Regions from separate parts of the Homo sapiens genome. Here all the other regions are linked to region 3. Evidence: promoter capture Hi-C in human tissues and cell types (Jung and others, 2019). All regions are on one chromosome and are shown on one strand. Each heading gives the region's core, a stretch centred on a gene start or on the middle of the fragment in contact. The rest is flanking DNA. Distances are from core to core; before and after follow the strand shown.

Region 1 (3,460 bases), core at 530-3,029, 470 kb after region 3:
CACTGACATACCCAATAACCATGCAATTCCACTCCCAGCAATAGGCCATGGAGAAACTCCTGTATATGTGTGTTAATAGGAACACATGAAAATGTTCAGCAACATTGTTCAAATAGCAGAAAGCTGGAAACAATCCAAATATCCACCAACAGGGCAATGAATCAATTGATTCTGCATACTCACCCAACAACACATAATTCAGCTTTTAAAATGAATGAACTACAGCTACATGCAACAATGTCAAACAGTTATACTATTTTTACAAATCAAAACAAACAAGCAAAATTAGCTGTATAGTACTTATGAGCATATTTTTAAGGGATAAATAACATTTTTTAAAAAAAGGCAAGAGAAAGAAAAAAATTAGGAAGTAGTTGCTTCAAAAGATAGGCAGGTATATGGGATGGGGCAGAGCACAGATAAGTGCGACAGAATTGGCAGGGCTTTTGTTTGTAGATTAGGTGGTAAGTCATACATATGACACTGTTATCCTTTATAATTTTCAAACATAGTTGTGTGTGTGTGTATGTGTATATATATATATATATATATATGTAATGTTAAGTTAAAACAATTAAAATATTGGCCAGGCACAGTGGCTTACACCTGTAATCCCAGCACTTTGGTAGGCCAAGGCAGGTGGATCATTAATATACAAATATATATTAAATGTTAAGTTAAAACGATTAAAATATTGGCTAGGCATGGTGGCTCACACCTGTAATCACAGCACCTTGGGAGGCCAAGGCAGGTGGATCACTTGAGCCCAGGAGTTCCAGATCAGCCTGGGCAACATGGCGAAACCCTGTCTCTACAAAAAATACAGAAAGTAGCCAGGCATAGTGGTGTGTGCCTGTAGTCCCAGCTTCCAGTCCCAGGAGACTGAGGTGGGAGAATCACTCCAATCCGTGAGGCGGAGGTTGCAGTGAGCTGAGATTACACCACTGCACTCCAGCCTGCACCACAGAGCAAGATCCTGTCTCTAAAAACCAACTAAACAAACAAAAACACAAAAAACACCCCTCCCCAAAAAAACCAAAATACGAAATAACTAACATACCTCTTCTCTGAACTTCATTTGTCTTTATAGCACACGTCACTCCCCAAAGAATATATACATACACACTGACTCACACTCATGCACTCATTTCCTTGTTTATTTTAAGTCTCTCCCATTAGAATGCAAACTCCCTAACTGTGGAGTCTTTGACATTCTTGTTCACCACAGTATTTCCAGGCCTAGAAGAGTACTCGGCATATACAATAAATATTTATGGAATAAATGAATAAATGGATGAACAAATGGCCTAGATAGTGCAAACAAAGCAATAGAGCACTGGCTGGTGCAACGGCTCACGCCTGTAATCCCAGCACTTTAGGAGACCGAGGTAGGCAGATTGCTTGAGCCCAGGGATTCGAGACCAGCTGGGGCAACATGGTAAAACTTCATCTCTACAAAAAATACACAAATTAACTGGGCATGGTGGCACATGACTGTAGTTCCAGCTACTCAGGAGACTGATGTGGGAGGGTCACTTGAGCCTGGGAGGCAGAGGCTGCAGTGAACCATGACTGCACTACTGCACTCCAACCTGGGTGACAGAGTGAGGCTTGTCTTAAAAAAAGAGAGAAAGCAATAGAGCATAAAAGGCTTAGTTCATGAACCCTGAAGTCAGACACTTCCAGGTTCAAATCAAGGCTCTCATTAGTCTTCTTAGCTGGGTGACCTTGAATGAGTTGCTTAACTTCACTGGGTTTCCGTTTTCTCATCTCTAAAACAGGGTAATGGGGGGAGGAGGGGTTGTGATGATTAAAAAAAGAATTTAGCACTTTGTCCAGCACAATATTATTCTTGCACAACGACAGTGTAATTTCCTCATAAAAAGCGGCTTTTTATTGCTCAAGGACATAGCTTTGAGCAATCTGCATTCTTTACGCAGTTTTACTATGACTGATTTTGTCCACACCCAATTTTAAAATGTGAACCAATTGGGCATCCTATAGTTGTTGCTACAGTTTGCTCAGACTAAGGCCATGTGCTAGGGAAATCTTGTAGCCACCAAACTTCCAGTGAGTATGGCACAATATAATCTTGCATTTGTGCTAGCCACTAGCATAGGAAATCAGCAAGACGAGAATAGCAAAAATAACAGCCATTTATTCACGGTTTTCTGTAGGATAAACAACACAGACACATCATCCCATGAACTTCTCACAGCTAGCGTGGGAAATTGGTGTGTACAAGAATTACAGAAAGCAGGGTGGGAAATTGGTGTGTACAAGAATTACAGAAAGCAGGTTCATTATAAACTGTTTTCAAATTTGGGCCTAAGCAGGTTCTGAAATAGAGACCATATTCAAATAGTAATTAGAAATTCTTAAGAGTAGATTTGCACTATCAGCTATAATATATCCTTTTAAAACAAAACAGAAAGCAAGCTCTTTCACATCCTAGATGATGACTTATTTTATAGTAGTAAAACCCAGGGCCTTCGCTGCTGTGAAGCCCATGCAGTCCCTTCCAAAAATTATGGTAGCAAATTCAAAAGGAGCAACTGCGCAGTGCTGTTGACTCACATTGCTCCCAACACACTCACAATAAAAATGAACTTTTCAGTGAACTGACCTATATTTTCCACCCTGGACTCTAGCCAAGACCCAGGCATCCATACCTCTAATGGACCATACTGTCTTAGAGAGCCCTAGGTCTTTCTGGGAGTCTTTTCCAGTTCTGCTCAGGCTCCAGGTCCAAAGGACAGCCCAGGGGTTCCGACGACTCAGGAGAATCCCAGATGAATAATAATTACTCATCATAACAATAATAACGCTTTATACGGTGTTTACTATGTATCAGGCAGTATTTATTATTAGTGTTGTACATATATTTGCTCATTTAATCTGCATAACTGCCATTAAATAGCATATCCCATATGTTATATCCCATGGGGTAGATATAAAGCTTGCAATATGACTAAATCTCACAAGTGAGATTCCTTAAAGTGAACACATGAAATCTATATGCAATCTGACCTTGCTGAGCAAGGTGAGACCACAGCAGAAATCAGCAGCCCATGCCAAATGATCCTTGGTGGTACTGGAAAATGATCTGGCCTCGTGGTTTTGATCAAATGGCACACTCTCCTCTCAGATCCAAACCACAACTTCCCCAAAATTAATCAAGGAGAAATAAATGGATAGAGGGTGGAGCAGAAGAGTACTTAATTTTTGTCACATTTCACACCCTAACTACTTCTCATTAAGTCTACTGGCCTGCATGCGATTCCCAGACCTTTCTTAAATCTCATGACTTTTATATCATCCTAGGCACCTTATGCCCCTTCTCAGCTTTCAGCATAGTCACAACTTCCTCTGGAATTTCTTCCTGATTCAAATGTTCCCCGTCATTTCCCTCCAGCCCCTCTATGCTTAGAACACTCTGCACACATTTCCTACAGTATGT
Region 2 (3,507 bases), core at 215-2,714, 490 kb after region 3:
AGAAAAATAAGCAACTGTTCCACTTGCACATATTAAAATGGATTTAGTTACTTTATAACCAAATCTAGTCCATCATTTTAGGGAAGACTTTTGAACAGATGCCTCCAGTCTCTCTGAATAGGCAGTAAAAGCATGATTATGGGTAACTGTGGTTAGTCTGCTTTCTGCTTAGGTTGGATCTCCATTCCACAAATTACAAATTGTGACCCTGAAACACCCTGGAGATTAAGTTGATTAATCTCTTTGAGCTTCAGCTTCCTCATCTATAAAATAAGTTTAATAATAGTATCTACCTACTAGAAATACTGTGAGGGTTAATACTGTTCTTGGAATAGTGTCTAGAACATAGTAAACATTCAATAAATCTTGTTGTTACTTGCCTTTTTCATGGCTCTTTGAAAATTAGCTGTTTTCCCTACAGTTCATTGGAATGGGGAAGGTTATTTCAGACAAACTAGAGATCTCAACTTTTGTAAAATGTTTTTAAATAAATTTTTTAATAGCGATGGGGTTTCACCATGTTGCCCAGGCTGGTTTCGAACTCCTGAGCTCGAGCGATCCGCCCACCTCAGCCTCCCAAAGTACTGGGATTACAGGCGTGAGCCACCACACTCCCCAGCCAAATTTCTGTAAAACATGTCTTGATTTTGCAAGTACTATAAAGTCCAAACAAGGCAAGCTTGCAAGCCAAGTCCAGTGAGCTGCCAATCCCTGGTTTAAATTTTCATGAAGAACAATGTTAGGTGACTTATTGCATAAAGATGATGTTAAATTAAACTCGACAACCTACAGGGCTTAAACAATTCTAATTTAGAGTTCAAGCTTGATTATTACTCATGTGGGTAGAAACTTGATGATAATCCAGTTAATTTTAAAATCTCATTAATTTGTAAATGCCACCCATCAAATGCTAGAGTCTAGCTTTCTTCCTCAAAAAGTTGGGAGGCCAAACTGTGGTTAGTAGCAGTTTGTCCCATTAAAGCTCAGACAATCCAGTTGGGGAGGTATGACTAAAAACAAACAAGATGTGCAAAACAATATGTGATTAAGGGCTAACCTGTTGTGACGTCAATGATGGATAGGCCAAGATTATGGAGCGCTCAGGCTGAGCAGGAACAACCAGAAAGAAATGGCACTGTGTGTGGACAAAGTAACATTTTGCTCAGCTTTAAAGCACAAGTAGAATTCAGATTACAGGGGAAGGAGGAACAAGCTATAATAAAGGCAGAAAGACAGGGGTGAGCTCAGCATGTACCAAAATCAGACCAGACAATACAACTCAACAGGGAGACTTTACATTTTGGAGAACTGGGGAAAATAAACTTGCATAAACATGGTGCAGGACTGGGAATGGCTCATTTTTTCTTTACAGATTTATCCAGTGTTGAAATTATTTGCCCTGGGGTTCCTCACCTCTTAGTATGGAGAAGCAAGAACAAACCATATTAGGAATACTGCTTTTGAAGAGCAACTATGAGGTTTCTCCAGGGCAAGGACCTTAATTCTATTAACCTTTGAATTCTTAGCACCTGGGACAGTAACTGGCACATAGTAAATAAGTGTTTCCAAAATGCCTGGCAAATAAATGACTGAACAGCCACATAGCAGCAACCCAAACCAGCAGGTCAGAACTGTCTCTCATTTAAAAAAAAAAAAAATAGGTGCACAAGTGTGGTTGAGAGGTCATAATCTATAAACATTCTCAAAGAGATGTGTTTTATCACCTCTACTGCTCACTCCTGTTATACATAAACCTTTTCTTTAGCATACATTGTTTTTTTACTTAGGTTTGATAGTACAAAACCCTAAACAATAATTTCTTTGTTATTTATTTTTTGAGATAAGAGTCTCGCTCTGTCACCCAGGCTGGAATGCAGTGGCGTGATCTCAGCTCACTGCAAGCCTCTGCCTGCAGGTTCAAGCTATTCTATGCCTCAGACTCCCAAGTAGCTGGGACTACAGGTGCATGCCACCACACCTGGCTAATTTTTTGTGTTTTTAGTAGAGACAGCATTTTGCCATGTTGCCCAGGCTGGTCTCGAACTCCTGGCCTCATCTGATCCTCCCGCCTCATCCTCCCAAAGTGCTGCGATTACAGGTGTGAGCCACCAAACCCAGCCCTATTTTTAATTAGAGAAAAAAGCATGGCCGGGCACAGGTGGCTCACGCCTGTAATCCCAGCACTTTGGGAGGCTGAGGCGGGTGGACCACAAGGACAGGAGATTGATACTATCTGGCTAACACAGTGAAACTCTGTCTGTACCAAAAATACAAAAAATTAGCTGGGCGTGATGGCACGCACCTGTAGTCCCAGCTACTCAGGAGGCTGAGGCAGGAGAATCGCTTGAACCCGGGAGGCAGAGGCTGCAGTGAGCCGAGATCGTGCCACTGCACTCCAGCCTGGGTGAAAGAGCGAGGCTCCACCTCAAAAAAAAAAAAAAAAAAAGAAAAAGAAAAAGAAAAAGAAAAAAGCAAGGGCAAACGGAGACATAAGGCATTGCTTAGTTCATAACTGCAAAGCTGTTGTCATCAACATCATTTATTTACCAAATTAAAGGTAGAATAGTCCATTGGAGGTATCAGGAAATCTGTAACAGTTTAAGACTACAATTTATTACATGCTCTCCCCCAAAATAAACCCTGTTAAGAGCTCTATCAAGCTTCTAGAAAGTTTTTTGACAGTAACATGCCTTCTGCATCGAGTTCAGTGCCTCATATTTATTAGTGAGTTATTTCTAAAGGCAGATACACTGGAGCAAAGATACCTTACATTTATTATATAAGGAGTCACTTCATAGCTTCTATTTAAACTTACAAACATATATAATATAGAGATTTTTAAAATCACATGCACACATTGTTAAATTCGGTTTAGCCTAATGCTGCCTCCTTACATATTTTAAGTTTAGCCCAAGGTTTCCCTGTACATAATGAACTGTAACCTAACTGGATGTGTAAACAGTCTGTAACCTACTCTTGTGCCAATCACCAAGTTTTGGCCAATCAAAGGTGGCCAGCTGTTCAAACCATGTTCAAATAAGGCAAACGCGGAGGTGTTAACCAATCTGGGTGGTTCTGTATCTCACTTCCAATTTCTGTAGCCACTTTCCTTTTTCTGTCCATAACTTCCACCAAGTAGCTGTGCTGGAGTCTCTCTGAACCTATTCTGGTTCAGTAGCTGCACGACTGGTGAATTGTTCTTTGCTCAATTAAACTCTGTTAAATTTAATTGGTCTAAGGTTTTTCTTTTAACAACAAAAGTACAATTTGTAATATTCCTATTATGTAGCAAACCTGGTTCCTTTTTTTTTTTGGAGACAGGATCTCACTCTGTCACCCAGGCAGGAGTACAATGGCACTCCTACCTCTGCCTTTGGAGTAGCCGGGACCACAGGTGTATGCCACCACACCTAGCTAATTTTTGTATTTTTTGTAGAGACAAGGTTTCACTATGTTGCCCTGGCTGGTTTCAAATTCCTGAACTAAAGTGATCCACCCACCTCTGCC
Region 3 (3,542 bases), core at 190-2,689:
ACTTGGGAGGCTGTGGCAGGAGAATGGCTTGAACCCAGGAGGCAGAGGCTGCAGTGAGCCGATATCATGCCACTGCACTCCAGCCTGGGTGACAGAGGGAGACTCTGTCTCAAAAAAAAAAAAAAAAAAAAAGTTTAGCCAGACCAAAACATTTCTCTTTCCCTTTGTACTAGTGTAGTCTACAATATCTGTTTATGGATTGTAATATATTTATACCTTCTTTCCACAAGGGATTTGAAGTTGCTTATAACATACAGTATACAATAATAAAATATGTAGAAAGGGAGAATATAAAGAATATATCAAATTTGATTCAGGGTTGCTGGCAGCCACAGCAATGAACGATATGGTTTCATTATCAGGTTTTTGGGTCAATGGGGAGGGGAAGAGAATAACTTTTCTAGGATTCGAAATAAAAAATGGAACTTCTGACTTAGAGCATTTCTGTTGTGCCCTTCTCATTTCTCTAACCTAATTAGTAAGTTATTCTTGGCCTGTAAAAACTAAGGAATACTTACTCCTCTGCAGCCTCAGGGTATGTAATCCGCATTCTTCAGTCTATCAGCTTCAACTTTTCAAGATGCCAGCATCACCCATTCATTCTTCCTGCATAGATTGTCCTGGGCATTGGAAACAAAACCATATGCCTTAGGTTGGTTTGGGTGTGCTCACATCAATTCATGTGAAGAATCCCTTTCTCAAAGGCTGGGCGAGGTGACTTAACGCCTGTAATCCCAGCACTTTGGGAGGCCGAGGCGGGCGGATTACCTGAGGTCGGGAGTTGGAGATCAGCTTGACCAACATGGAGAAACCCCGTTTTTACTAAAATATACAAAATTAGCTGGGCGTGGTGGCGCATGCCTGTAATTCCAGCTACTCAGGAGGCTGAGGTAGGAGAATCGCTTGAACCCGGGAGGGGGAGGTTGCGGTGAGCCGAGATGGCGCCATTGCACTCCAGCCTGGGCAACAAGAGCAAAGCTGCGTCTCAAAAAAAAAAAGAGAAAAGAAAAAAAAAATCCCTTTCTCACTGGTTGGAGAAAGAAGACCTATGTTTACACTCCGACAATATCAGAAAGCTGTGCCAGGCCATGTTATAACCAAAAGCTAAATCTGTGTGATTGGGTTTAATAGGTTTCTAGGGTTGTTAAAAATAAATCGGTAAATTAAACTCTTTCAAGTTTCTAACAGGAAACCAGATTGAAGCTGGCTTCCATTACCAATAAAGTTTGTATTGGATGGTGTGATCCGCAACAGAGTACGCAGTGGTGGGGACTGGCATTAGGGGTGGGCGGGAGAGACCCTAAAAATCCACCGCCCTTCGGCCGCAGGGGACTTCACGGTGATGAGCCCGAGGTGCCCATCAACTCGGGCCTGAAGGACCAGCGTCTTGCCCCGCCCATCGCCGTCTGAGGTTAGGACAAAGATCGAGAGGCTGGACAGGGCTGGGGAGGGCGCTCCAGGGAAGCCGACCTAGCGTCGATTCCTGCAGTTGCGGCCCGGGTCCCCGCGCCTGGAGAGGAGGCGACGCGTGGCCGGCGGCTTTGTGGCGCGCGGGTTCCAGCGCGGGGGCGGGGAGAGGGCGAGCTGAGGGCCTCGAGTCCCAGCACTCCGCCACGCTGCGGGCGCCGGGCATGGCCAGCCCCTTGCCGTCCGGCTTCCCCGCGCGCAGGAACAGCCGCCTGGATGTGTTCCTGCGGCGGCATCTGCCGCCCGAGGTCTACGACGCGGTCCGCGCCTACGAGCCATGCATCGTGGTGTCCAACTCTGAGAACCACATCCTCAAGTATGTGGTGCTAAGCGACCGGCTCGTCTACCTAACCGAGAACCCGCCCAAGTCCATCCGGCGGGTAGTGGCTCTGCGGGACGTCGTGGCCATTGACCTGGTGAGCGGCGCGGGTGGGCAGGCGGGCTCGGGAGCGCAGTGAGAACTCCCGGCTGGGGCCCCCAAACCCAGCCCTCCTGCGCGGGGAGGGCTGCCCCATCCTGCCCTCGACTCCCCTCCTCTTATTTGAGAACGAGGAACACAGGGAAGCTGTGGATTGCTGTGAGCACTCCTAATACAAACACGTCTCCCATTCTCCTCGTGTCTGCCTGTTCACCCATTCTCCCGCCTCCCCTACCCCACGTAGGGCTACAGGTTTGAGAACCGAGCTCCCTATCAAAAATACCTTTTAAAGTCATTCCTTTGTTAACAAAGCACCTAGTCAGTGCCAGGCACTGTGCTAGACTCGGAGGATGCAAAAACGAAAGAGGGCCCCTACCTAGAAGCAGTCGCTGGAGGGCTAGAAAGCCAACACCCGTGCAAATAAATGCTGTGTGTTAAGTGCTGTTATATCTCATTTACTTTTTTGCCCCCGATGCTTAGAGCATGTTAGATGCTCAATAAGAATAAATGCATAAGGCCGGGTGCCGTGGATCACGCCTATAATCCTTACACTTTGGGAGGCCAAGGTGGATAGATCACCGGGGGTCAGGGGTTCGAGACCAGGCTGGCCAACATGGTGAAACGCCGTCTCCACCAAAAGTACAAAAATTACCCAGGCGTGGTCGTGTGCACCTGTAATCCCAACTACTTGGGAGGCTGAGGCACAAGAATCGCTTGAACCTGGGAGGCGGAGGTTGCCGTGAGCCGAGATCGCCCCACCTGCACTCCAGCCTGAGCTACAGAATGAGTGAGACACCGTTCCCCTCCACCCCCTCCCCAGCAAAAGAATAAATGCATGAATAAGCAGATGCGTTAATGAGATGCGCACAGGACGCTTGGCAATCTCAGGCGGCTCACTTGATCCAAACTGGGCGCAGGGCCTGCTGGGAAACGTCTTGGAAGGAGGGGCGTCGACGCTAGGAGCTGGGCTTGAAAGACGTCGGGCCTGCCACAGCCTGTCGCCGGTTTTCGGGTGCTGTTCCTGTACCCCTTTCGTCCAGGAATAGATTTACCTTGTAAACCAGCAACAGACTGGAAGCACGGTCTCCTCTCCAATTACTGTTTTCCCCGCCTGGCTCCCTTTGTCTGAGCTGCTCTCCAGGTGTGTTCTTGGTTTTTCCGTTGGGGACAGGTGTCTAGCCTCGTTTTTTCATTCCCTTGACTGAGCCCCAAGGGAGAGGTTGGCGAGACGCTTGATGGAGCTGTTTTGCTGAGGAGTCATGGCTTGTTTTGAACGAGTCTGTAAGAAAAGAATAAAATTAAATGAAAAAAAAAGATTTTTTTTCTACTCGGAATACCTTTGTGAACTAATGTAACTGTGCCAATTTATTTTCTTTGTTGAGGAAAAGTTCGGGATACAACATTGCTTTTCCTCACTACCATTGTTTCCATTCTCTTGAACTAAAACAATTTTTTTGGAGACAGTCTCACTCTGTCATCCAGGCTGGAGTGCAGTGGCACCATCACGGCTCACTGCCGCCTCAGCCTCCAGGGCTCAAGCGATCCTCCCACATCAGCCTCCCAAGTAGCTGGGACTACAGGCTCATGCCATCACAGCTGGCTAATTAAAAATTTTTTTTTGTAGAGACAGGATCTTGCAGTGTTGCCCAAGCTAGTC
Region 4 (3,564 bases), core at 329-2,828, 390 kb after region 3:
GACTTTTGCTCTGAGTGTGGTGAGAGTCATTAGAAGATTTGGGCAAAAGAGTGATAGGCTCTGCTTGAAGTCGAAATAATTATTCTAGTTTTTCCTATTTATGTATTCGATTGGTCATTTAACAGATACTTTGGGAAGTAAGGTGGTTGGAGCCCATGTAGAATCTGCCGTCATAGTCAGAAGTCCTCTGATTTCATGTCTTCCTATTTTAACCATCTTAAGAGTGCATAATCCAAGTGAAATTTTCAATTGGACCCGGAGAATAGGCAGATTCTCCATTAATAAGCAGCATTTGGGGATGAATTATTTACTGGATAGGGTTTTCCCACTCCTTTACAGCAAACAAACACTGGTATACCTGGACCAAACTTTTCCTTCAGACTTCAGTTTACAAAAAATAACTGTTTTATTGTGTGTTTTATTATACAACTTGTTCATTGTGTAAAATCAGAAACTACAGATAAGCAAACAGAAGAAAATAAAAGTAACTTAGAGATATCCATTTAAAACAATTTACCCTTCTAGATTTTAATTTTAGCTAAAAAATAAGTTTTCAAGCATTCCTTGACCACTTATCTCAATGTAATTATGAGTTCAAGTACAGGCAGGCCATTACTTAACCACAGAGACATATTCTAAGGAATGCATCATTAGGCAATTTCATCATTGTGTGAACATCATAGAGTGTACTTACACAAATCCAGATGGTATAGACTACTATATACCTGTTCTATATGGTATAATCTACTGTTCCTAGGCTACAAACCTGTATAGCATGTTATTGTACTCAATGACGGTGGTCCCATAAGATTAGAATGGAGCTGCCCTATGCAGGTGTATCATTTTTTTTATCTTGCATACTGTAATTGTATTGTACCTTTTTCTGTGTTTAGATACTCAAATACTTACCATTGTGTTACAGTTGCCTTCAGAATTCAGTACTTCCTCTTGTTATATTAAAGTTAAAGCCAGGCCAATCACACATATCCTGTTGTTACTAAATAATAAAAGCAACAATGTAACTCCAAGAACAGCAGCACCAATAATTGCTATTCAGAGAGCATTTATTATGTGCTTGCCATCCTGATAAGCAATTTATAAATACAAATTAAAAATATTTTCTAAAATATTTCAGAAAATTACATCATTGCAAAAAATGATAGTTTAGTTTTGGCTTATTTCTTAAAAAATAAAAAGTTAGTCATAGGGTTGATAAAACCCAAGAGAACCAGCTAGCAGTGTTAGCTTGAACTATTCTTATTTATCCAGGCCCTATCAATAATTAAGCTGCCCCTTGAGGCCACCAGAATACCATTTAATTCTTCTGCAACACTGCACTAAAATGCTTTGGAAAAGTTCTTCTTGTTATATTATTTACTACTGTTATATAAGTATACTAAACTATATGTGTTAGCTTACTGCTAATAAAAGCCAATTAATTTTTCAGCGAATATATGACCTGTTTGTACATGACAACCATGACCATCATTACTCCAGAAAAGAAAACAGTAAGAATTTAATTCAAGACATGAAATTCTAACAAAATTCAAAGGCCACCCTCTGACTTGATAATTCTACTTCAAAAAATGTAGCATAAGAAAAAAAATCATAGATTTAAATGTCTAACAACAGAAAACTAACATGGCCATGCACATAGTAAAGTACTATGTAGTCATGAGGTAGCCTATTTCCAGATGTGAGAAATGCTAATAATATTCTATATGAAAATGGCACCTTTCCAAGCCATATAGAATGAAATCTCAATTCTGTAAAATATACACATATATATTTAAGTATATGTATACACATATAAATAGTGAAAAGATAGAGCCTAAAATTTAAAAGTAGTTAGTGTTAATATGGGTAATTATTATTTCTTTTTATATTTATAGCGTTTTCTAAATTTCTACAATCTATATCTATTTTTATATTCAAAGAGAAATAGGTTCTTTTTTCACATATAGAGATTGGTAGTTTTCAGATGCTTTTAACTTATGGTACTTTTTTTAAAAAAAAAAACAAGGTCAGAGCCTTAGAGATCTGTAGTCAAGTGGTATCTTTTATTAACTTCTACTAAAACATGTTTGAATATTAACCTATTTTAAATGGTGTATTTGAAACTACAGCTTTTCTCCTCCATAAAATATCTTTGCTTTTTTTTTCATGTTGGGGTATTTAAATAGAATATGGCTGTCTTTGATCAAAATAAAAAATAAGTATGAATCTTACTAGTAACCTTTCCTTTCTTTCAGATTAAGCCACACAATCAGCAATACCTAAAGTGAGTCAACTGAATTTCTGTGAGTCTGACTCTGACAACCTATGGGACTTATGCCAAAGAGGGGTTATTCTCACTGGCTTTGGGCCAGTTTCTGCTGCTTTGAATCCCTCCCTATAACTTGGATGATTGACAAATGTTGTGCCTCTTCCCAGAATATCATTCTTCAGTCTTTTCATAAGAATGACTAGGACAAGAACCATAGTGTCCTATTTCTCAGAAGTTTCTGACCCTATGCATTGGGTGACATCTCTACCACCAAAAAATACCAACAGAGTACATAGGAGCTATGAACTATCTAAGACATACGGGCAAAGACAAGAATACATGCTAGTCAGCCTGATGCTGCAATTTATACTCCTGAGCATTTTGTTTCCTTATCCCTGAAGTGTGGATATAATACCTGTTCTCTGGGCAGCTGTGAGGATATGTGAGCTAATTTATGAAAATGTAGAGTACAGTGCTTGGCACATAGCTAAAACTCAGTAAGTGGCAGCTTATAGATATCATTATTGGTGAAGAAACAAGATGAATTATATTGTACATGTATTTATGTAAACCAAGGAAGGATAAAAAATATTAATGATTTTAAAACAATCTTTGGGGAAATGACAGACTTCAAGGTAATTTAAAACCCATAGAGATAACCTAACATATTCAAATGCCACCATTTGATGGTATACCTCCAAACTACATACTTCTATTAACGTTCTTAAAATTGGTAAATAACACCTTGTGATTAGGTGCTTAAATAAAGTGATTATTGCAAGCTGGCTGGATAGCCTGTCCTGCAACTGTGACAGATGACATTAATTACATTTTTATGCGTAGCATATGAACTGCACATTTTCTGGCTGCAGAACCAAACCAGATGCAGAGTACTCTGTTTCAGCATGAGTAATGGAAAGAAGGAAGCAAAAGCTCATGACTGCAGAAGGCAGAGCTGGAGAACAGGGCAAGAGGCACATCAGCCCTGGTTCTTTGGGAAACAAGTGAGGGTTGAGAATGAAACAAGCCCTTGTGTAGCAGGAGCCTCCAAATTCTGACCTTCTCTTAAAATAGCTAAGCAGAACTTAAGAGGTTAAAAGCAGAGTACTCTCCTATCTGTGTTTACATTGTCTACATCTAGTAGAAGGTCTGGAATTAAATAACTCTTTTGTTGAATGAAGAAATCAATTCAGCCTCAAAGGTAAGGCGCTCCATGTGAAATGGCTGTGGGGGATTTGAGAGGCATGGAGTCTCGGCCAGCTTGTGCATTCACTTGGATACTCCCTGATTTCCCACTA
Region 5 (3,865 bases), core at 350-2,849, 290 kb after region 3:
TGGGGAGGATTATGACCGGGAAATTCATACCCAACTGGAGCCAAGACTCTAGGCACTGATGCCAGACAAAGAACTCGTGGTGGAATCTTGACTTTTCAATTCATTTCATCTATAAATTCTATTTAACTTAACATGCTCCAGGAATTAACTAATTCCTAACCTTCGGGAGTGGACAAATGTTAGGGCTGCAAAACTACTCCACAAGCCTGTGGAGCTAACTGTGGGCACTCCATTGAGCATATTCTGTGCCAGGCACTCTTCTTGGCATTTTACACATATTAACTCACTAAATTCTCACAACCCTATGATGTAAGGATTAATGTTCCCCCTATTTTATAGGTGAGGAAACTGAGATGCAGAGAGCTTAAGAAACCTGACTAAGGTCACACAGCTGATGAGTATGTGACAGAGCTAGGATCTGAAGTAGGCTCTTTGAATCCAGAGCCTCTATTCTTAACCTACTGCCTAAACTCATTTTCTAGTAGTAGGAGACAGAGGGGTTAAAAAAATTATAATGCGGGGAGATCAGAAAAATTCTGGACATACGTACCCAATAGAATAATGGGAGAGGAGAAAGTGATTAATCCTGGTTGGAGTGGTGGGGAGGACAGAGTTGTGGGAGGAATGCCAATTTGGCAAAGCCTTCACAGCAGATGTTGAATGGTTATCATGGACAGCTGAGGAAACAGCATAGGCAAGTGGATGGAGGTGGGAAATGGCCCAGCATATGTACAGTCTGCTACTGCTGAAATATACAGTAAATATGGTAGGGTAGCAGGAGAGGGCTGTGCAGCAGTAGCAGAGATCAGAGAGAGGAATAATTCAATTATATGAATTGGCCATGCCATGGAGTTAGCTTTTTTATTTTTTTATTTTTTTTTGAGACAGAGTCTTGCTCTGTCACCGAGGCTGGAGTGCAGTGGCACGATCTTGGCTCACTGCAATCTCTGCCTGCCAGACTCAAGTGATCCTCCTGCTTCAGCCTCCCAAGAAGCTGGGAATCCAGGTGCATGCCACCATGCCTGGCTAATTTTTTATTTTTAGTAGAGATGGGGTTTTGCCATGTTGCCCAGGCTGGTCTCAAACTAATGGAGACCAAGCAATAAGCCCACCTTGGGGAGTTTGCTTTTATATTGAAATAGGTTTTAAAAAGGGGAGAAAGCAAGCAACCCAGTTTTTTTTTTTTTTTTAACTCTAGCTGCAGTGTGAGAATGCAGGGCCAGGGGGTAGGGGTTGGGAAAAGAAGGCAAAATCTAGAAGTAGAGTCCATTTAAGACACTCTAACTATCCCCAGTGAGAAACCAAGGTGATGGGGATGGGGAAGGAGGGATGAGTAGTGAGATGTTTTTTTTGAGGGCAGATCAATAGGACTTGTTGATTCAGATGGGGGGTGGAGGGACTGTACGGAGATTTCTTTATTAAGAGTAAAAAGTTGATTCTTATGAAGCCTAAGTGATTGAAGTCAGCTCTAGACTCTTGCTGGGAACTCGGACTTAAAAGGGACACTGTATTTTTAGATGCATGGATCTTGATTGTGGCTAATAATTAATTCATGGTATCATTATTTTCACCTTCCTTTGTATAGTGTCAAAAAGCCCCCACTGAAGTAAACAGCAATGCTTTACTTTGCCAATGATTATCGGTTTCATAATATGTCATACACAATCCCAGAGCAACTCTGCCTATTAGCTTGGGTTGCCCACTGACAGATAATTACCACCTGGTGTTCCTGCACTGTAATAAGGATCTTTGATTTCATTTTATCCATTTCTTGAAATAACATTGAAAGATGGATAAATTACCCCACTCCTAAAATTGGTTGAGAAAAACCAAGAATCAAAAGCCAAGAAAAGGTCACATTTCCCAGCTTACAACTTCCTCCTTTCCCTTAGGCAGCTGGCACCTGGCTTTCTGCTCAATTCCAGCCATGAGTGGGAAGCTCCTGGCTTTCTGGAGCCAGAGGATGTTCAGGAGGAAAGCCCACTCAGCCGAGGGTGAGGCCACAGCTGGGAGGATGACTCGCACTGGATCCAGAAAGAAAACAAATGGTCCCAGAAATATGGTGGTAATGGGGTAATGGGGGTGGGGGTGTATGGAGGGGGGCCACTGCCTTTTCCAGGAAGTTAGCTAGTGAAATAATTCTTGTGGGAAAAGATGAAAAAAATGTCCACTTACTGATACAAGAAATCAGATCGTTAAATCTTTCCTTAGGAAAGAGGGGGTTTTCCAGCCCACGGAAATAGAGCTTCAGAACGCCAGCAACTGAGTTAATATCATGGTTACTCTGGTCATCAGCCAAAGGATTTTCACCTAAAAAAAAAAAAAAAACTCATTACATTAACAGTGCTTCTTTTTCTCTGAACAAAAATATATTTCTATGAACATACACGTTGCTATATATACATGTATCTTTTAATTATGCTTTATGAAAGATTATATGGTACTAAAATTAAAATAATTGGTTTAGATATCCCACCCCATGATTAACCTAAAAACAGTTGACTAAAATAAAGCTTTTAAAATCTTATGCTACTAAATAATCCCTTACAAGTTACTCAAATCTTAAAATAAAATATTGTGGAATTTATAATTTTACCCAACCCCCACTTTTTTTAAGCTGAAATCTGTAATCTTAGTTTGACATGAATTCAAACACTACATCCTGTGTTTCTTACCCTACTGGGAAAAAGACACACCATAGGTCTGTCTGACTATGCTATATGGGTCAGCAAAATTTATCAGAAATGTCATAGGTGCCACTGAATTGTGAACACCTACAATTAAATAAGTAGGTATTTCCCAAAGTGGCATGGTGGTGTTCACAGCACATCTGAAGGCTGTCTTGAGCAGAGGCAGACTCTAAAATCAGATAGAGGAACTTGAAAATGTACCTTTCATGTTACCAAGGAGTTTGTATAAAAAGTGGGAATTTAAAAAATATATCACAAATATAAAATTATTTTTTTTATGGTAAACAACTTTAAAATATTAGGCAACTAGTCTGGTGAGCGTTTCTTTCTGAGAACTAAATTAAATTATTAGGCAACAAGTCTGGTTATTGTTCCTCTAGAGATAAAATCCTTAAGAAGTTCAACATAAAATACAACCTTAAATCAAATTCTGTTTTTTATTTACAGTTTTATGCTTCTCTTCTAAAGTTCACAAAAAGTGTGCATTGCATTTTAACGTATTTTTTTGCTTCTTAGGGCAATTTATTTTTAGGGATCTGTTGTTCTCTTTTCTCTGTTCCTAGGGCAAGAAATCACTGAACATGAATTTATCAGAATATAATAATTACTATTATTTTTGCCCACTGTGAGAAAGCCTCACCCAAGCAGATCACAAACAAATAACAAATACTGGGAAAATTTCCAAGGAAAAATGATCATGTATTTTGCCTGTGGTGGCTAGCACAGAACCTGATACTTTACCATATTTCAGCTTACCCTGAAGATGGCCAATGCATGAGACTTGGCACATGTGGCTGCTCTGCTCTAACCATCAATTTTTACAGTTTTGCAGGTGAGGAAATCGAGGCCAAATAGGAATTGAGCGACTTGACCCGTATCACATGATTGATTAGTGGCTGAGAGTCTGATATGATTCTAGGTCTGCCTGACACGAAAGTGTGCAGCTTTGCTAATTATAATGTGCTAATTGGAATGTTTCTAACATAAGGAAATGATATGTGCTTCAGGTGATGGATATCCCAGTTACCCTGATTTGATCATTACACACTGTATGCCTGGGTTAAAACATCATATATACCCTATTAATACATAACACTATTACGTACCCATAATAGTTAAAAATAAAAAATTAAGGGAAAAAAGTATTGACATTGAAAAAAGATAATGTATATGGC
Region 6 (3,333 bases), core at 405-2,904, 310 kb after region 3:
TATTCCACATCCTCATCAACAGTTGGTATTGTCAGTCTTTCTTTTAAATTTAAACAATTGTGTTGGGTGTGCAGTGGTATCTCACTGTGGTTTGAATATGCATTTCCCTGATATATGAGATTGAGCACATTATCATATGTTTAAGGCAATTTGGATCTCCTTAATTGAGAACACTTTGTTAAAATCTCTTGCTCCATTTTCTAAGTTATGAGTCTTTTTCTTAATGATTTGTTGAGATGGATATGAGTCTTTTTGTAGTTGTATGTGTTGCAAATATTTTTCCCCACTGTGCTGTGGTTTTTCCCTCTTTCAATAGTGTCCAGATGAACAAAGATTCTAATTTTAATATAATGCATTTATCAATTCTTTCCTTTTAGTGTTTTTTGTGTCCTATTTAAGAAATATTTTCCTATCTCATAGCCATAAAGATACTGCTTTATGTTATCTGTTAGGAGCTTATTTATTTATTAATCTCCTAGTAGTCTTTTTATTCACTGAAGGTCATATTCTACCTTTGCTTATCAAAGTATAATGTAAATTGATAGCTTTTTCCTTCTGTCACACAATGTAAAGAGTTTAGAACACCTTAACTTCATTTACTCCTCCTGATTTATATGCTATTTTTGTAATATATTATAATAGAATATATATAAATATTAATATATAAATTTAAGACATTATTATTTTATGTAGTCAAGATTCACTTAGCATCACCCATGTATTTATTACATTCTTTGATGTCGAGTGCTTATATTTTAAGTGTACCCTTTAGAAGTTCTTTTTAGTATGTGTCTGTTTTGTTGACTTGACAACGTCTTTTATTTCACCTTCATTTACTAAATATCTTTTTCTGTGCAGCAGTTATTTTCTTTTTGTATATTAGAAATATATCACTGTACTTTGTTGTGGCTTCTATGTTCCTGTTGAGTGAGAAGGTTACCATCAGTCTGTCATTGCTTTGAATAAAATCTGCTTTCTTTTTCCAGCTGCTTTAAAAATTTTCCATTCATCTTTGGGTTTCTACAATTTCACTGTAATATATCTAGGTAAGGATTTAAAAAATATATTCTGCCTGGAATTTCTTGGACTGCTTGAATTTGTGTGATGTTTTTCATAGGTTTTAGTAAGTTTGCAGCTTTTATCTTTTCAAATATTGACTCTATATTCTTTAATTTTTCTTTCTGAGCGGGGCGTGGTGACTCACACCTGTAATCCCAGCACTTTGGGAGGCTGAGGCGGTGGATCGCTTGAGGTCAGGAGTTCGAGACCAGCCTGGCCAATATGGTGAAACCCTGTCTCTACTAAAAATACAAAATAGCTGGGCGTGGTGGTATGTGCCTGTAATCCAGCTACTCGGGAAGCTGAGTCAGAAGAATTGCCTGAACCCAGGAGGCAGAGGGTGCAGTGAGCTGAGATCGTGCCACTGCACTCCAGCCTGGGCGAAAAAGTGAGACTCTGTCTCAAAAAAAAAAATTTTTTTTTCTTTCTGGGAGTTCAATTAGTATATTAGACATTACTGTGTTCTCTATATCTCTTATTCTTCTTTTCCATATTTTATTATCTTTTGTTTTTGATGCTGCGTTTTTATTATTTCTTCTGATTTGTCTGCTTTCATGATTTATTTTTTAGCTCTACCTGATGTTAAACTCACCCACTGCTTTCTTAATTTTGGTTATTTCTCAGTGCTAGAATTCCTATGTAGCTCATTTTCAAATCTGTTATTTTAGTGCTTATGATTTCCTGATGAAATCTAAGCTTGGCTTTTAAAAACCTCCTTGAACATTGTAAATAGTTCTTTTGTCATTTATTTCTGATAATCCCAATATCTGGAGTTCCTGTGGGTGTGTCTCTATTGTCTATTATTTCTTCTGGCTATCACTCATGGTTTCTTATCTCCTCATTGTCTAATTATCTTTGCTAGATATTTTTTGTAGAGTTACTTGAGGTCAAAGGTGAGGTTATCCTCCAAAGAGAATGTTTATTTTCCCAAACCATTAGGGGCACTAATAGCTCAGAATCTCTGGATTTTATTACTGTTCAAAATATTGGATGCTCTTCCTTTTGGGAAGATATGGTTCCCTGTGTCACAGGTTTCAGGCTTGGCCATGCATCTTGTCCTAGAAAATGAACTTTGAAAGAATCAGTTGAGTGACCCAGTCCATCATTACAGGAAGTGGAAATCTTTTCAATTACTTTTTTTTTTTTTTGAACAAAATAATGTTTGGGAAAGAAACAGTAGCAATTAGTACTAGTTTGGATGCTTAGAAGGTCATGTGATGGAATTAATATTAAAAAAAGAAGGGAAAGAAATTTAATAGACAATAATCATTCCTGGGGTTATGCACAATGCAAAGAGTAGATACTGTTGGAAAAAAAGCATATTAATGACCATTAAAAATACTGTAATTAATTACTTTAAGGAGGTCATAATCAAATATCTATAGACTGAATTAAAAGAGTCACCATCCTACACTAGTCAAATAGGCTCTTGTAGCTTGTAGACAAATTTCTAATGACAGTATCACGCACAGGTTTTAAAAGCACTGTATTTCAAACAAACAGATGTGAAGATGGTATACTCTGAGAAAAGTGTACTTGATGACTCTGTTGGGAACAAGCCCCCCAAAATCTGGCCATAAACTGGCCCCAAAACTGGCCATAAACAAAATCCCTGCAGCACTGTGACATGTTCATGATGGCCATAACACCCACACTGGAAGGTTGTGGGTTTACCGCAAGAGGGCAAGGAACACCTGGCCCGCCCAAGTCGGAAAACTGCTTAAAGGCATTCTTAAGCCACAAACAATAGCATGAGCGATCTGTGCCTTAAGGACATGCTCCTGCTGCAGTTAACTAGCCCAACCTATTCCTTTAATTCGGCCCATCCCTTCGTTTCCCATAAGGGATACTTTTAGTTAATCGAATATCTATAGAAACAATGCTAATGACTGGCTTGCTGTTAATAAATATGTGGGTAAATCTCTGTTTGGGGCTCTCAGCTCTGAAGGCTGTGAGACCCCTGATTTCCTACTTCACACCTCTATATTTCTGTGCGTGTGTCTTTAATTTCTCTAGCGCCGCTGGGTTAGGGTCTCCCCGACCGAGGTGGTCTCGGCAGACTCAAAATGTGGCTCTGGTAATGACAAACACAATATCAGGATATATGAAGAGCCTTCATAAAATTGTGAAAATGAGAAAAATATAGTATTTCTAAATTAAAAGTTTTATATAATGTGATTTAAAATATTTGTGCATAACTAAATTAATAGCTGAATACTGAAGGTAAATATTTGACTATGTTATCTACATCTCCATAAATTTTATATTTATAAT

The links. The method cuts DNA at HindIII sites, captures the fragments that hold promoters and counts their contacts. A contact is called where the count stands out against the background at its distance.
Region 1: a contact is called between a fragment that was not itself captured here and the fragment with the promoter of C12orf56 in region 3, in 1 of the 25 tissues and cell types used here (pancreas).
Region 2: a fragment that was not itself captured here is called in contact with the fragment with the promoter of C12orf56 in region 3 in 1 of the 25 tissues and cell types used here (H1 embryonic stem cells).
Region 4: a contact is called between a fragment that was not itself captured here and the fragment with the promoter of C12orf56 in region 3, in 1 of the 25 tissues and cell types used here (dorsolateral prefrontal cortex).
Region 5: a fragment that was not itself captured here is called in contact with the fragment with the promoter of C12orf56 in region 3 in 1 of the 25 tissues and cell types used here (mesendoderm cells).
Region 6: a fragment that was not itself captured here is called in contact with the fragment with the promoter of C12orf56 in region 3 in 1 of the 25 tissues and cell types used here (IMR-90 fibroblasts).

What each region holds. Positions count from the first base shown.
Region 1 is chr12:63,916,594-63,920,053 of GRCh38, reverse strand. The region is part of intron 1 of SRGAP1 (SLIT-ROBO Rho GTPase activating protein 1); the gene reads right to left. Among named protein-coding and RNA genes, the nearest start is that of SRGAP1, 74 kb to the right of the region's middle. RefSeq lists an enhancer at 408-1,196. The HindIII fragment of the contact is 5,861 bases long and covers 1-3,460 here.
Region 2 is chr12:63,899,144-63,902,650 of GRCh38, reverse strand. The region is part of intron 1 of SRGAP1 (SLIT-ROBO Rho GTPase activating protein 1); the gene reads right to left. Among named protein-coding and RNA genes, the nearest start is that of SRGAP1, 56 kb to the right of the region's middle. The HindIII fragment of the contact is 4,157 bases long and covers 1-3,507 here.
Region 3 is chr12:64,388,655-64,392,196 of GRCh38, reverse strand. C12orf56 (chromosome 12 open reading frame 56) reads left to right here and starts at 1,439. Exons shown (of 13, transcript NM_001170633.2): 1 at 1,439-1,883. The coding sequence starts at 1,632. The HindIII fragment of the contact is 10,638 bases long and covers 1-3,542 here.
Region 4 is chr12:63,994,474-63,998,037 of GRCh38, reverse strand. The region is part of intron 3 of SRGAP1 (SLIT-ROBO Rho GTPase activating protein 1); the gene reads right to left. LOC105369801 (a long non-coding RNA gene) reads left to right here. Exons shown (of 5, transcript XR_945023.3): 4 at 1,448-1,508; 5 at 2,253-2,333. Among named protein-coding and RNA genes, the nearest start is that of SRGAP1, 150 kb to the right of the region's middle. The HindIII fragment of the contact is 6,628 bases long and covers 1-3,564 here.
Region 5 is chr12:64,095,686-64,099,550 of GRCh38, reverse strand. It overlaps SRGAP1 (SLIT-ROBO Rho GTPase activating protein 1), which reads right to left. Exons shown (of 22, transcript NM_020762.4): 15 at 2,176-2,310. It overlaps LOC105369798 (a long non-coding RNA gene), which reads left to right. Exons shown (of 2, transcript XR_945018.2): 2 at 1-131. Among named protein-coding and RNA genes, the nearest start is that of KICS2, 120 kb to the left of the region's middle. The HindIII fragment of the contact is 4,186 bases long and covers 1-3,692 here.
Region 6 is chr12:64,074,794-64,078,126 of GRCh38, reverse strand. All of the region lies in intron 8 of SRGAP1 (SLIT-ROBO Rho GTPase activating protein 1), which reads right to left. Among named protein-coding and RNA genes, the nearest start is that of KICS2, 150 kb to the left of the region's middle. The HindIII fragment of the contact is 7,857 bases long and covers 1-3,333 here.